2 separate regions of the Homo sapiens genome follow, and region 1 is linked to region 2. Evidence: promoter capture Hi-C in 16 types of primary human blood cells and fetal thymus (Javierre and others, 2016). All regions are on one chromosome and are shown on one strand. The core of a region is centred on a gene start or on the middle of the fragment in contact, and the rest is flanking DNA. Distances in the headings are between cores, read along the strand shown. Region 1 overlaps PRKCB (protein kinase C beta). Region 2 holds the start of ERN2 (endoplasmic reticulum to nucleus signaling 2).

Evidence for each region. Contacts are between HindIII fragments. The CHiCAGO score rates a contact against its expected background, and 5 or more counts as called.
Region 1: a contact is called between a fragment that was not itself captured here and the fragment with the promoter of ERN2 in region 2, in 2 of 17 cell types (erythroblasts and M1 macrophages). The highest score is 5.9, in erythroblasts.

The regions. Positions count from the first base shown.
Region 1 is chr16:24,039,375-24,045,381 of GRCh38, reverse strand. All of the region lies in intron 5 of PRKCB (protein kinase C beta), which reads right to left. Among named protein-coding and RNA genes, the nearest start is that of MIR1273H, 160 kb to the left of the region's middle. The HindIII fragment of the contact is 4,302 bases long and covers 643-4,944 here.
Region 2 is chr16:23,711,351-23,717,245 of GRCh38, reverse strand. It overlaps ERN2 (endoplasmic reticulum to nucleus signaling 2), which reads left to right and starts at 4,024. Exons shown (of 22, transcript NM_033266.4): 1 at 4,024-4,151. The coding sequence starts at 4,059. The HindIII fragment of the contact is 14,517 bases long and covers 1-5,895 here.

The DNA.
Region 1 (6,007 bases), core at 1,544-4,043, 330 kb before region 2:
ACACCATGAAACTCGGAGAACAGGCCCAGCTCACAAGGCAGATGCTACACAAGATGGAAGCTAGTGACAATAAAAACTCAAAAATACCCAGACAGGGCCTGGGCCCAGCTCTGCTCAAGCTGAGAACCACCCAACAACCCTCCTCAAGCAACCAACACCCCATCATTTGGGGCATTATCCATTCATTTTTTTTTTCTGCTATTGTTGTTGAGACAATTTATTTCTGTTCATTTTTCCTATTTGGAGATTTTTCTGTTTTTATTTTTCAAAAATTGCGGAAATGATATGTATTGCAATCAACCTGTGAAACGTAATGAAAACTACAGAGACACAACACAATCCCCCTCACCGCCACAGCCTCTTCACTCCCAATCCTGCTGCGATCCCAGTGTTTACAACCTGGTTGGTATCCTTCCACACCTTTCTTCACACACAGGTTATAAAATATACAGACAAAACTTCACACATAGGAGGTGTCTGTTGCTGTTGCTTATTTCTTCAAAATGAGATCATACTAAATATATTTTTACGCAACCTAACCCTTTCACTTAACCATAGATGTTCCTCTAGTTCAAGGACTGCCAAATGTTTTCAGTAAAGGCCAGAGAACAAATATTTTACATTTTGCAGATTGTACAAGCTTTGTCACAACTACGCAGTGAACTCTGCCATTGTATCACAAGAGCAGCCATAGATAATATATAAATGAATGGATGTGGCTGTGTTCCAATAAAACTTTATTTATAAAAACAGGCAGCAGGCCAGTTTGGCAACCTCTGCTTTACACCAATATCTGTAGCTCTAACCCATTGGTGTTTTGTTTTTAGTTATTTAGAATTTTTATCACAAACTTTTAAATAATAAAAGTATAGGAAGTATAATATACCTATAGAAAAGTGTATAAATCATAATCTTACAGCTTGAATTCTCACAAAGGAAATTCACCTGTGTAACCAGTTCCCATGTCAAAAATTATACTCATTTTCTCATTTTAATTCAGTCTTTTCTTTTCTTTTTTTTGAGACAGAGTCTTACTCTATCACCCAGGCTGTAGTGCATGAATGACCTGATCTCTGTTCACTGCAAACTCCACCTGCAGGGTTCAAGTGATTCTCGTGTCTCACCCTCCAGAGCAGGTGGGATTACAGGCATGCACCACCATACCCAGCTAATTTTTTGGATTTTTTTTAGTAGAGACGGGGTTTCACCATGTTGGCCAGACTGGTTTGGAACTCCTGGCCTCAAGTGATCCACCCTCCTCAGCCTCCCAAAGTGCTGGGATTACAGGTGTGAGCCACCGCGCCTGGCCTAATTCAATGCTTTCAACAACTACCTAGTATCACATAAAATGGGTACCCCTTCATTAGGCTGATGTTTTCTTTGCATCTCAAAGAAAACATCAATAAACATGCTTGTTCTAGATTTTATTTCTTTGCACGCTGGTGTTTCATTTTAAGAGAATAGATTCCCTAAAGGAAAACGTGAGAGTCAAAATGTTCATATGTATACATATTTTAATAGACATTGCTGGACCACTGTCCCCAAAGGCAGTCACAAGTCACAGCCCTGCAGGTCCCAGCAGTGCCCACTTCAATGCAATTCCCTAGACATTTGGGAGCAATGACCGCGCCCAGCACATCCTGAAGGCCTCAGACGCTGGCCTGGCCTTGATAATTCTCATGAGACTTAAATGACCAGGGAAGAAGAGAAGGAACACTGAATAGCAAGACGTCAGCTTCCCTACATCTCCTTAGGTCCAGTATCCCAAAACTTCAGTGCCTGAGACACTCACCTCAACCTAACAAGCTGATAGGCTTTGAAGGAAGGATGGGCAAGAGACCCTTCCCCTGGCCTCATGGGGTGTGCAGACAACTATCAGTAATACACTGAGAAAGATGATAGATGTTCCATAGACAGATATGATTTAACTGAACTTCTTCATTACAACAATACTAAAAAAAAAGCAAAATAAAGCAGGTGTATTGAGTTTTTAAAGGCATTTTGCTCTTCAATGAATACATAACAAAAAATTGTAAACAAGAATTTCCAATTTTCAAAGTTTCTACTTTACTGCATTATAACTCCTCAAAAAACAAACAAAAAAAATTGAACAACTATTAAGTTTCATGTCATCTAAGGGATTTTAGGTATAATAGACATCCCAATAGCCAGAGCTCATGAGTATGAGTGCAGTGTGTGGGGACATAAAGGCATTTCTCTGGTTCATACCTTCCCTTGGATCCTCAACAGCAGCTGTGACATCAAAAAAGAGAATTAATTTGATAAGGGTTAGAATGACAGTCATATGCATTTGTCAAAACTCAGCCATTGTACACTTAAGACATCACCGGGCACAGTGGCTCACATCTATAATCCCAGCGCTTTGGGAGGCCAAAGTGGGAGGATTGCTTGAACCATGGAGTTCAAGACCAGCCTAGGCAACATGGCAAAACCCCATCTCTACAAAACTACAAAAATTAGCTGAGTGTGGTGGCTCATGCCTGTAGTCCCAGCTACTTTGTAGGCTGAGGTGGGAGAATCAATTGAGCCTGGGAGGTCGAGGCTGCAGTAAGCCGTGATTACGCCACTACACTCCAGCTTGGGTGACAAAGTGAGACTGTCTCAAAAAAAAAAAAAATTTTGTATGTATCATTGTATGTACATTTCACCTCAAAAGTTAAAAAAAAAAAAGAAACCCTACAAGTAAATTTTGAATTCTATTGATGTTGGGCATGCTGAAGTGTTTGGGGGAAATCGAATTGGTGTCTGCAGTTTACTTTGAAATGTGTCAAAAATAAGACAGATTGATGGATGGAGAGCGAGATAGTTGGAAATGTGATTAAGCAAGTGTGGAAACGTTAACGACAGAATATAGGTGGTGGATAAATGAGTGTTTGCTGTAAAATTCTTTCAACTTAGTTCAAAATAAAGACTTGGGAAAAAATTACAAACCAATAATGTAAAAGGGAAGGGAGATCTACCAGAACTGGGCCCTATCTGTGTGTGACCTGAAGAAGTAACCTTTCTCTGGACCTCAGTGAGCGTAGCTGGTCTCTGCTGCACCTTCCATTATGAGCAATGACAGTACTGTGGTTTCACAAATTGGGGCATCTCCTGAGAGAGCCTCCGAGGAGGAATGGCTTTGAAGGCAGAGACTGCCCCCTAGTGGGCCCTCGCGGCCTAGTTTATAATAATTTTCTGTCTGCAATTGACGCATGGCTGGGCAATATTACACAAACCCCCATGACACAAGTTTACCTATATAACAAACCTGCACACGTACCCCCCCACCAAAGTTCAAATAAAAGTTAAACAAAAATAAATATTAAGCTATCTGGATTTTTTTTTCTTGTTTACATTGCCCTTTTTCTTCCCAATTCTTTTTTTTTTTTTTTTCCAAGATGGAGTCTCACTCTGTTACCCAGGCTGGAGTGCTGTGATGCAATCTCAGCTCACTGCAACCTCTGCCTCCTGGGTCCAAGCGATTCTCCTGTCTCAGCCTCCTGAGTAGCTGGGATTACAGGCATCCACCACCACACCTGGCTAATTTTTGTATTTTTAGTAGAGACAGGGTTTTGTCACGTTGGTCTTGAACTCCTGACTGTAGGTGATACAGCCGCCTCAGCCTCCCAAAATGCTGGGATTACCGACGTGAGCCACCACACTCAGCCTCTTTGGTACTCTTTTTCTTTTGATGTGTGGATGTCAGATCTTAAGAAGGATTTAAATATCACAATATTGGGAGTACCTAAGGCTGTCAGGGAGATGTTTCAGTCTAAAAAGTTTCTGTATAACACAATATAATGGTAAGAATATAGAATGGGAGTTCCAAAGAGAAACATTTAAAAAAAAAAAGGTTCTTTCTGCTTTCTTTAAGAACACTCCCAACTTTTGGGAGATAGATATGAGGATGGACATGGCTAAGCATTTGGAGGTGGCTGTAATGTAGATGGGAGTATAAATAATAGATGTCAGTTGTTATGTTGATAGGTAGATACTGAATTGAAAAAGCATTGAATAAGATATTGTTAGCTGGGTGCGGTGGCTCACGCCTGTAATCCCAGCCCTTTGGGAGGCTGAGGTGGGCAAATCATGAGGTCAGGAGATCGAGACCATCCTGGCTAACACAGTGAAACTCCATCTCTACCAAAAATACAAAAAAAAATTAGCCGGCCATGGTGGCATGCGCCTGTAGTCGCAGCTACTCGGGAGGCTGAGGCAGGAGAATGGCTTGAACCTGGGAGGGGGAGGTTGCAGTGAGCTGAGATTGCACCACTGCACTCCAGCCTGGGTGACAGCAAGACTCTGTCACACACACACAAAAAAAATTATTGTTGCATGTATGAACACGCAGGCTTCACAAACCTTGGGAGCATTTTACAACTCTGATCTGGACATTGTATTGCCTGATCTCATGACACCTATGGGCATCATGATGTCAATACGGTTTCCTGGGATACTACAAATCCCACTGCTCCATGTCTTTTCTACATTGTCCAGGGAACAAGGGTGGTCATGACTCCAACAAGCGGGTCTCAGTCCCAGTAACATTTGCTGTTGACGTTGGACCTGGTACTTAAGATTTTCTGCATGTTCTACCTCCCATGAGAATAATGGTATAAATTGGACAATCCGTTGACCTTCATTTCCTGACTTTAGGAGGCACTGATCTGGGGACCATCAGTGAAAGCCTTATATCTATCTATCAGGATCCTCCAGGGGTTTCTCATTCATACATACAGCCATTGAGCCCATAAATATTTAGTGATGCCCACCTTGCTAGGTGCTGGGAGTAGAGTGGCAAGACACAGTCCCGCCCTCATGGAGCTAATGCCTTGTGATGAGATGCAGACATTAATCAAATCCAACATAAAATCACCCCTTTCACAAGGCCAAGCTCAGGTTACCATGAGTGTCTACGAAAGGGGGAAGTTGGAGGAAGCTTATTAGATGGTAAAAATGAACCGAGATCGAGAGGAAGAGTTAATTGCTAGAAAAAGAGAAGATGGCAATGGCAAACATTCTAAACAGAACGCACAGATGTCTTATGGTGTGTGGCAGTCTGCAGAGGACCAAGGATTAAAAGAAAGGGGGAGGAGACAGTGAATAAAGAATGAGATCGCCATGTTAGATTTAGTCTGTTATAAAGACAATGGGAAACCATTGATGGGTTTTTAAAAGGAGGAGAACTGATCAGATTTATTCTCATCTTGACCTGCCAAAACACTAAGAACAGATATATGAGCTCAATTTCAGTAGCCAGGCAAGTTAGAAAACCTTTGACCTCTAGAGATGCTGAGATTTCCAAAGAACATATGACACTCAGGGCAAACGGCAGTGTCCTGGGCTGATGGTCAGTGGAAAATCCTAATACTGACCATGCTTCTTGGGTCTGGATGAGGTGGGGCCATTCCACAAACACCACAAGGCCACTTCTGGCCTGGCACTGCTGGGAAGGACCCCGCACAACCTTTAGTGCTCGCTCCTCTCTGATCTGTCTTGCCAAGACCAAGGAGGAGGGGGCTGGAGTCCCAGCAATGAAACCAGGAAGACAGTCAGGAGACCAAGGGAAACTTGAGTGTGCCAGATGCTGTTGGACCCTGCCCAGCTCCCCTCCATGCTGGCCAATGCACCCATCCCCTGGGTGCTGTGTATGATGGCTGTTAATGGCTCACAGTTACCCCTATGTCCAGATAACTGTCCTCAACTGCACAGAAGCCTCCTCACCTGGGAAGTTACTCTACCTTCCCACCTCCATCCCCAGCAGCCTACAGCAGTAACTGACTATATCAGCCAGCTCAGGCTGTCATAACAGAATACCATGGACTGGGTGGCTTAAACAACAGACATTTAGGCCGGCACAGTGGCTCACGCCTGTAATCCCAACACTTTGGGAGGCCAAGGCGGGCGGATCACTTGAGGTCAGGAGATTGAGACCATCCTGGCTAACATGGTGAAACTCCGTCTCTACTAAAAATAAAAAAAATCAGCTGGGCATGGTGGCACG
Region 2 (5,895 bases), core at 2,775-5,274:
CTCTGCCCCAATACAGAATGCAGCTTCTCTTCTGGAGTCTTCCTGCTTTCCCAGGCTCTCCCCAGGAAGCAAAACGCAGAACCCCTCTGCTCTTGGACCCCACAAACCCACATGGGGTCCCCTCCTTGGATGAGGGGAGGGGCTGCAGGCCTGGGTCTCCCTTCCTTGGGGACCTGGAACAGCTTCTCCCTGTCCCTTCTTGTTCTCCTTCCTCTCAAAGTCGGGAAAATCTTTTCCAGTCTCGTTTAGTGTCTGAAATCTTTTTTTTTTTTTGAGACAGAGTATCACTCTGTTGCCCAGGCTGGAGTGCAGCTCACTGCAACCTCCACCTATGGGGTTCAAGTGATTCTTCTGCCTCAGCCTCCCAAGTAGCTGGGATTACAGGCACGCACTACCACACCCGGCTAACTTTTGTATTTTTAGTAGAGACAAGGCTTCACCATGTTGGCCAGGCTGGTTATTGTCTCAAATCTAGGGTCCTAACCTGAGTTTTCTGAAAACTCAAAAACTAGAAGAATTTTCATTTTCTCTTTCTGCTTTCTCATCCATTTGCTGAGGTAACAAAATTTAGGGCTGACTTGCTTGAATGGGAGAAGGACTGTTGGGGAAAAGGAAACTCTGGAGTGGAAAAAACATGTAAATATTTGAACATAGGATCCCATCATACATACAGGCACAGGGAGAAGAAACCATTGGCGGAAGTAGGACAGAATGTTAACGGGGTGCTGTTTTCAAACGGTGGACCCATGAATGAACTTTTTAAAAAAATTTTATTTATTTATTTTTTATTTTTTTTATTTTTATTTTTGAGTTGGAGTGTTGATCTGTCTCCCAGGCTGGAGTGCAATGGCGTGATCTTGGCTCACTGCAACCTCTGCCTCCCGAGTTCAAGCAATTCTCCTGCCTCAGCCTCCTGTGTAGCTGGGATTACAGGCATGTGCCACTACGCCCTGCTAATGTTTGTATTTTTAGTAGAGACAGGGTTTCACCATGTTGGCCAGGCTGGTCTTGAACTCCTGACCTCAAGTGATTCACCCACCTCAGCCTCCCAAAGTGCTGAGATTACAGGATGAGCCCCTGCACCCAGCTGATTATTATTAATATTTTTGAGATAGTGTCTTGCTCTTTAGCCCAGGCTGGAGTGCAGTGGTGCAGTCACAGCTAACTGCAGCCTCCAGCTCCTAGGCTCAAGTGATCCTCCCACCTCAGCCTCCTGAGTAGCTGGGACTACAGGTGTGAGCCACCACACCTGTCCAGATATTTTCTTATTTAAATTTTTCTGAATTTTACAAAGTTTCTAGAATGTATATTGCTTTTATCATTACACACACACACACACACACACACAATTTATTCCAGTTCATTTGCAGTTTGTATTTTATGCAAGTCAAATTTTTTGCATGAGAAATGCCTGAATCCAAGCATAGTAAACACAATGTACATTTCAAAACAATGCAGAGTGTACAAAATATAGAGCAGAAAGGAGGGTTCATTCACACACTCAATAGCTTGGGTTAGGTTCTACAATGGCAAACAATCACTTTTGTTATAAAGTTAGGAGTACTGGGCCAATTTAGGGGTGTTGGAACAGCTAAGCATGAAAGAGCAACCAAGTAAACTAAAGACTTCATAATGTACATATTTCTTTGTTTTTGTTTTGTTTTGTCTTGTTTTTTATTTATTTATTTATTTTGAGACAAAGTCTCACTCTGTTGCCCAGGCTGGAGTGCAATGGCACGATCATGGCTCACGGCAGCCTCCACCTCCTGGGTTCAAGCAATTCTCCTGCCTCAGTCTCCCAAGTAGCTGGAATTACAGGCATGCGCCATCACGCCCGGCTAATTTTGGTATTTTTAGTAGAGACAGGGTTTCACCATGTTGGCCAGGCTGGTCTCAAACTGCTGACCTCAGGTGATCCACCCACCTCGACCTCCCAAAGTGCTGAGATTACATGCATGAGCCACCGCGCCCAGCCTGTTTTGTTTTTTAGAGACAGGGTCTCACTCTGTTGCCCAGGCTGGAGAGCAGTGGTGCTACCTGCAGCCTGGATCTCCTGGAATCAAGGGATCCTCCTACCTCAGCCTCCCAAGTAGCTGGGGCTACTAGTGCACACCAGCGTGCCTGGCTTATTTTTTATTTTTTGTAGAGACTGAGGTCTTGCTATGTTGCCCAGGCTGCTCTTGAACTTCTGAACCTGGTATGGCTTAGTGTGAAATAACTTTCACAAAAATCCCAACCTGTTTCAACCCAGCCTAAGACAGTGGTGTAGTTCCTTCAGATGGTCAGCTAGGAGGTCCAAGCAGGATAAGGACAAGGAAGGGGCTGACAGAGTGGAAGAGAGACTGAGGGATGAAGGTACCGTGTAGGTCAGGGCACAGGGATAAGGAGAATGAAAGGGTGAAACCGTTGCATGGAGAGGAGGCTGCAATCAGAGAAAGGGACATTGGAACTAAAGTGGTTCTGAGTGTGACAAGGGCCCAGTGCAGTTGTGGCGTGGGGGATAAGGTCTCCAAAGAGGTACACCCACTGAGAGGCTGCAATGCTGGCTAAGCTGTACCTTGGACATTGAAGACACCAAGGAGAGTGGCAGGATTTGTGATGGAGATGAAGGCTAGGGGCCAAGCTACCAAGTTTTCAGTAACTGTGAGGGGATGACCAGGAGGGCCAAGGATGACAAAGAGGACGGGGAGAAGGTGGCAGAGCTGGGCTGCATGACCCTCAAATCAGCAGGGATTTTTTTTTTTTTATTTTTACACAAGGATGAAGGAGACATGAATGAGTTGAAACTTGCAAACAGGGTGGACCTTACCTTCAAGGACCCTGGCAGACCCTCTCTGAACAAAACTGGAGACATCTACCAGGAGCAAGGGTGGTCACGGCCATTAGAAGGTGCCCTTCCATGCGGAGTTGTCTTACATCTAAGGCATAGGAATCTCTAAGCTCTACGAAGACAGGGACCTCATCATCTTGTTCATCAGGCAGGCATGTCATAGCTTATAATAAATGCATATTTATTGGCTGGGCGCGGTGGCTTATGCCTGTAATCCCAGCACTTTGGGAGGACGAGGTGAGCGGATCAACTGAGGTCAGGAGTTTGAGACCAGCCTGGCCAAAGTGGTGAAGCCCCATCTCTACTAAAAATACAGAAATTAGCTGGGCATGTTGGCCCACATTTTTAATCCCAGCTACTCGGGAGGAGGATTGCTTGGACCCAGGATGCAAAGGTTGCAGTTAGCCAAGATAGTGCCATTGCACTCCAGCCTGGGTGACAAGATCGACTCTGTCTCAAAAAATAAATACATGCATATTTATTTATTTATTTTATTTTTGGAGAGTGTGTCTCTCTCTGTCGCCCAGGCTGGAGTGCAATGGCACAGTTATAGCTCACTGCAGCCTTGACTTCCTGGCTCAAGCAATCCTCCCACCTCAGCCTCGCGAGTAGCTGGAACTACAGGTGGACATCACCACACCTGGCCATTTTTTTTTGTAGAGATGGGGTCTCACTATGTTGCTGGTCTCCAACTCCTGGTTTCAAGTGATCCTCCCTCCTAGGCCTCCCAAAGTGCTGGGATTACAGAGGTGAGCCACTTACCTGACCCATAATAAATATTTATTGAACGAACGACTGAATTCACCAATTAATCGCTATTTCCTGATAGCCCACCGGGATCCGCTGGTGCAATGATAAAGAGCGCAGGCTTTGAGATCAGGCGGATCTGTATTGGGACTGCGGCTCTCAGCCTCCGCTTGTACCTGCTGTGCAGTGAGGACTCCAGGAACTGATGATGAACCGGCACGGTCCTCGGCACGTGGCAAGTTCTCCATAAGTGGGCTCAGTAAAATCCCTCTCCCGGGAAAGCGCCCCACCGTGTTTGGTGGGGTGACTGGGACGCGAGGATGCGGCTGGGAGTGTGATGAGAAGGGCGGGGATCGGCGAGGACTCCAGGCTGGGGTTGCAGGCCCAGCCAGGGGCGGAGCCTTCTCCGGGTCGGGCGGGGACAGAGCGCTCCCTTGGAGGCACCCAGGGACCTGGCCAGCCGTGCAGCTGCCCAGGCGCTATGGCGAGTGCGGTCAGGGGGTCGAGGCCGTGGCCCCGGCTGGGGCTCCAGCTCCAGTTCGCGGCGCTGCTGCTCGGGACGCTGAGTCCACAGGTGAGAGCCAGGGACCGACGCCAAGTCCCCAAAGTCTGGTCGCGGGGCGCAGGGGGCGGCGTCGCACTTGGGGCGAGGGCGCGGCGGGGCCACGGGGGCACCTCTCCCTCCCTCACGCCTGGGTGGTCCCAACTCGGCCCCAACGGAGTAAAAGCCTCCTGGGTTTGGGGAGCCGCCAGTTGCCCCCAACAAATACCTAGCTGGGGAGATCTGCCAGCGTGGAAAGGCAAGAGTAGACAGAGCACCCCGCCTCTTCAGCAGGGAGAGGTGTAGTCTGGGGTAGGGGGGCACCTGGGCACGAAAGCCAGGCCTCTTAAAACTTCTGGGAATCCTGGCTTCCTTTGAAAATATGATTGACTTCAGGGCCCTCTGCTGAGAAATGAGCCTGCACGCCCAGTTTTGCAATTTCAGAGGCTTTACAATACGGTCCCCTTACCCATGGCTGCACCCCAGGTTCAGAACCTATGGGATAAATGAGCTGGGAGTGTCAGTATCTGCTCCCACGGTGCCAGGAATAGCAGAGTCTTACAGAAATGCAGCCAGGAGGCAAAAGTCGCCTGGCCTAAGAATCCAGGTGTCCCGCCTAGAACCCCCATGGGGCAAAAGCGATCAGGTAGAGTTAGGCACCTCTCATTCCCGGCTTCCACCTCATGGGTCCACCTCATGGTTGCCAGCTAAGAATGCAAGCCCAGTGTGGCCAGATCGGATGTCTCTGGAAAAATTAGAAATGAGAAAGATTTGAAATCTTGGTTTTTTTGTAGAAATCATCCAATTTTTAAAAAAATTGGCAGCTAATTGAAAAATTTTTAAGCACTAGATGGTCAAACAAAATTCATTTCTGGGCAACCAATCTGCAGCCTCTTCTCCAAACCGTTCTCCCTCCTGCCATGCTGCAGATGACAAAATTGAAGCCCAGAAAGAAAGAGGGGCTAGCAGATAATTTCCTGACCCTCCACTCAACACCAGTGGCCCAGCCCCAAACCTGAGGGTCCTGAAGCAGGATGTGGCCTTTGTAGGGGTGCGGCTGGGCCACCCGGATGTTAGGCCTCCTGCTGGGAGCTCAGCCTCACCCTGTTTGCTCAAGGAGGGACTGGAGCAGGTGAGTGAGCCCAGGATCGCCAGATGTAAGTACGGGTGGCTCCAGCCCCCCTCCCAAGGGCACCCCCCAGCCTTGGGTCAAGGGACCCACTGGAGCCTGGCACCAAAACCAGCTGGGCTGGTTTGGGGAGGCAGAAAGGGGCATCCCAAAAGAGGTAGACATTGTGGCAGAGGAAAAAGAGGCCAGGCATAGGAATCAGAGGGATGGCAACTCAAGTCCTTAGTTTTGCCACTTATTATCTCTGTGGCTTTATGCCAATGACCTAACCAATGACCTAACTTTCCTGAGCCTCAGTCTCCCTCCTCTGTAGAATGGGAAAACTAATAATACCAGTCTTAGAATGGGTGCAGTGGCTCATGCTTGTAATCCCAATACTTTGGGAGGCTGAGGCAGGAGGATCGCTTGAGGCCAGGAGTTCCAGACCAGCCTAGACAACATAGCAAGACCCCATCTCTACAAAAAAATACAAAAATTAGCCAGGTGTGATGACAGACACCCGTAGTCCCAACTACTTGGGAGGCTGAGGTGTGAGGATCAGCTGAGCCCAGGGGTTTGAGGCCACAGTGAGCTATGACTATGCCACTTCATTCCAGCCTGGGCAATAGAGCAAGACCCTGTCTTATATTAAAACAACAAGAACAATAA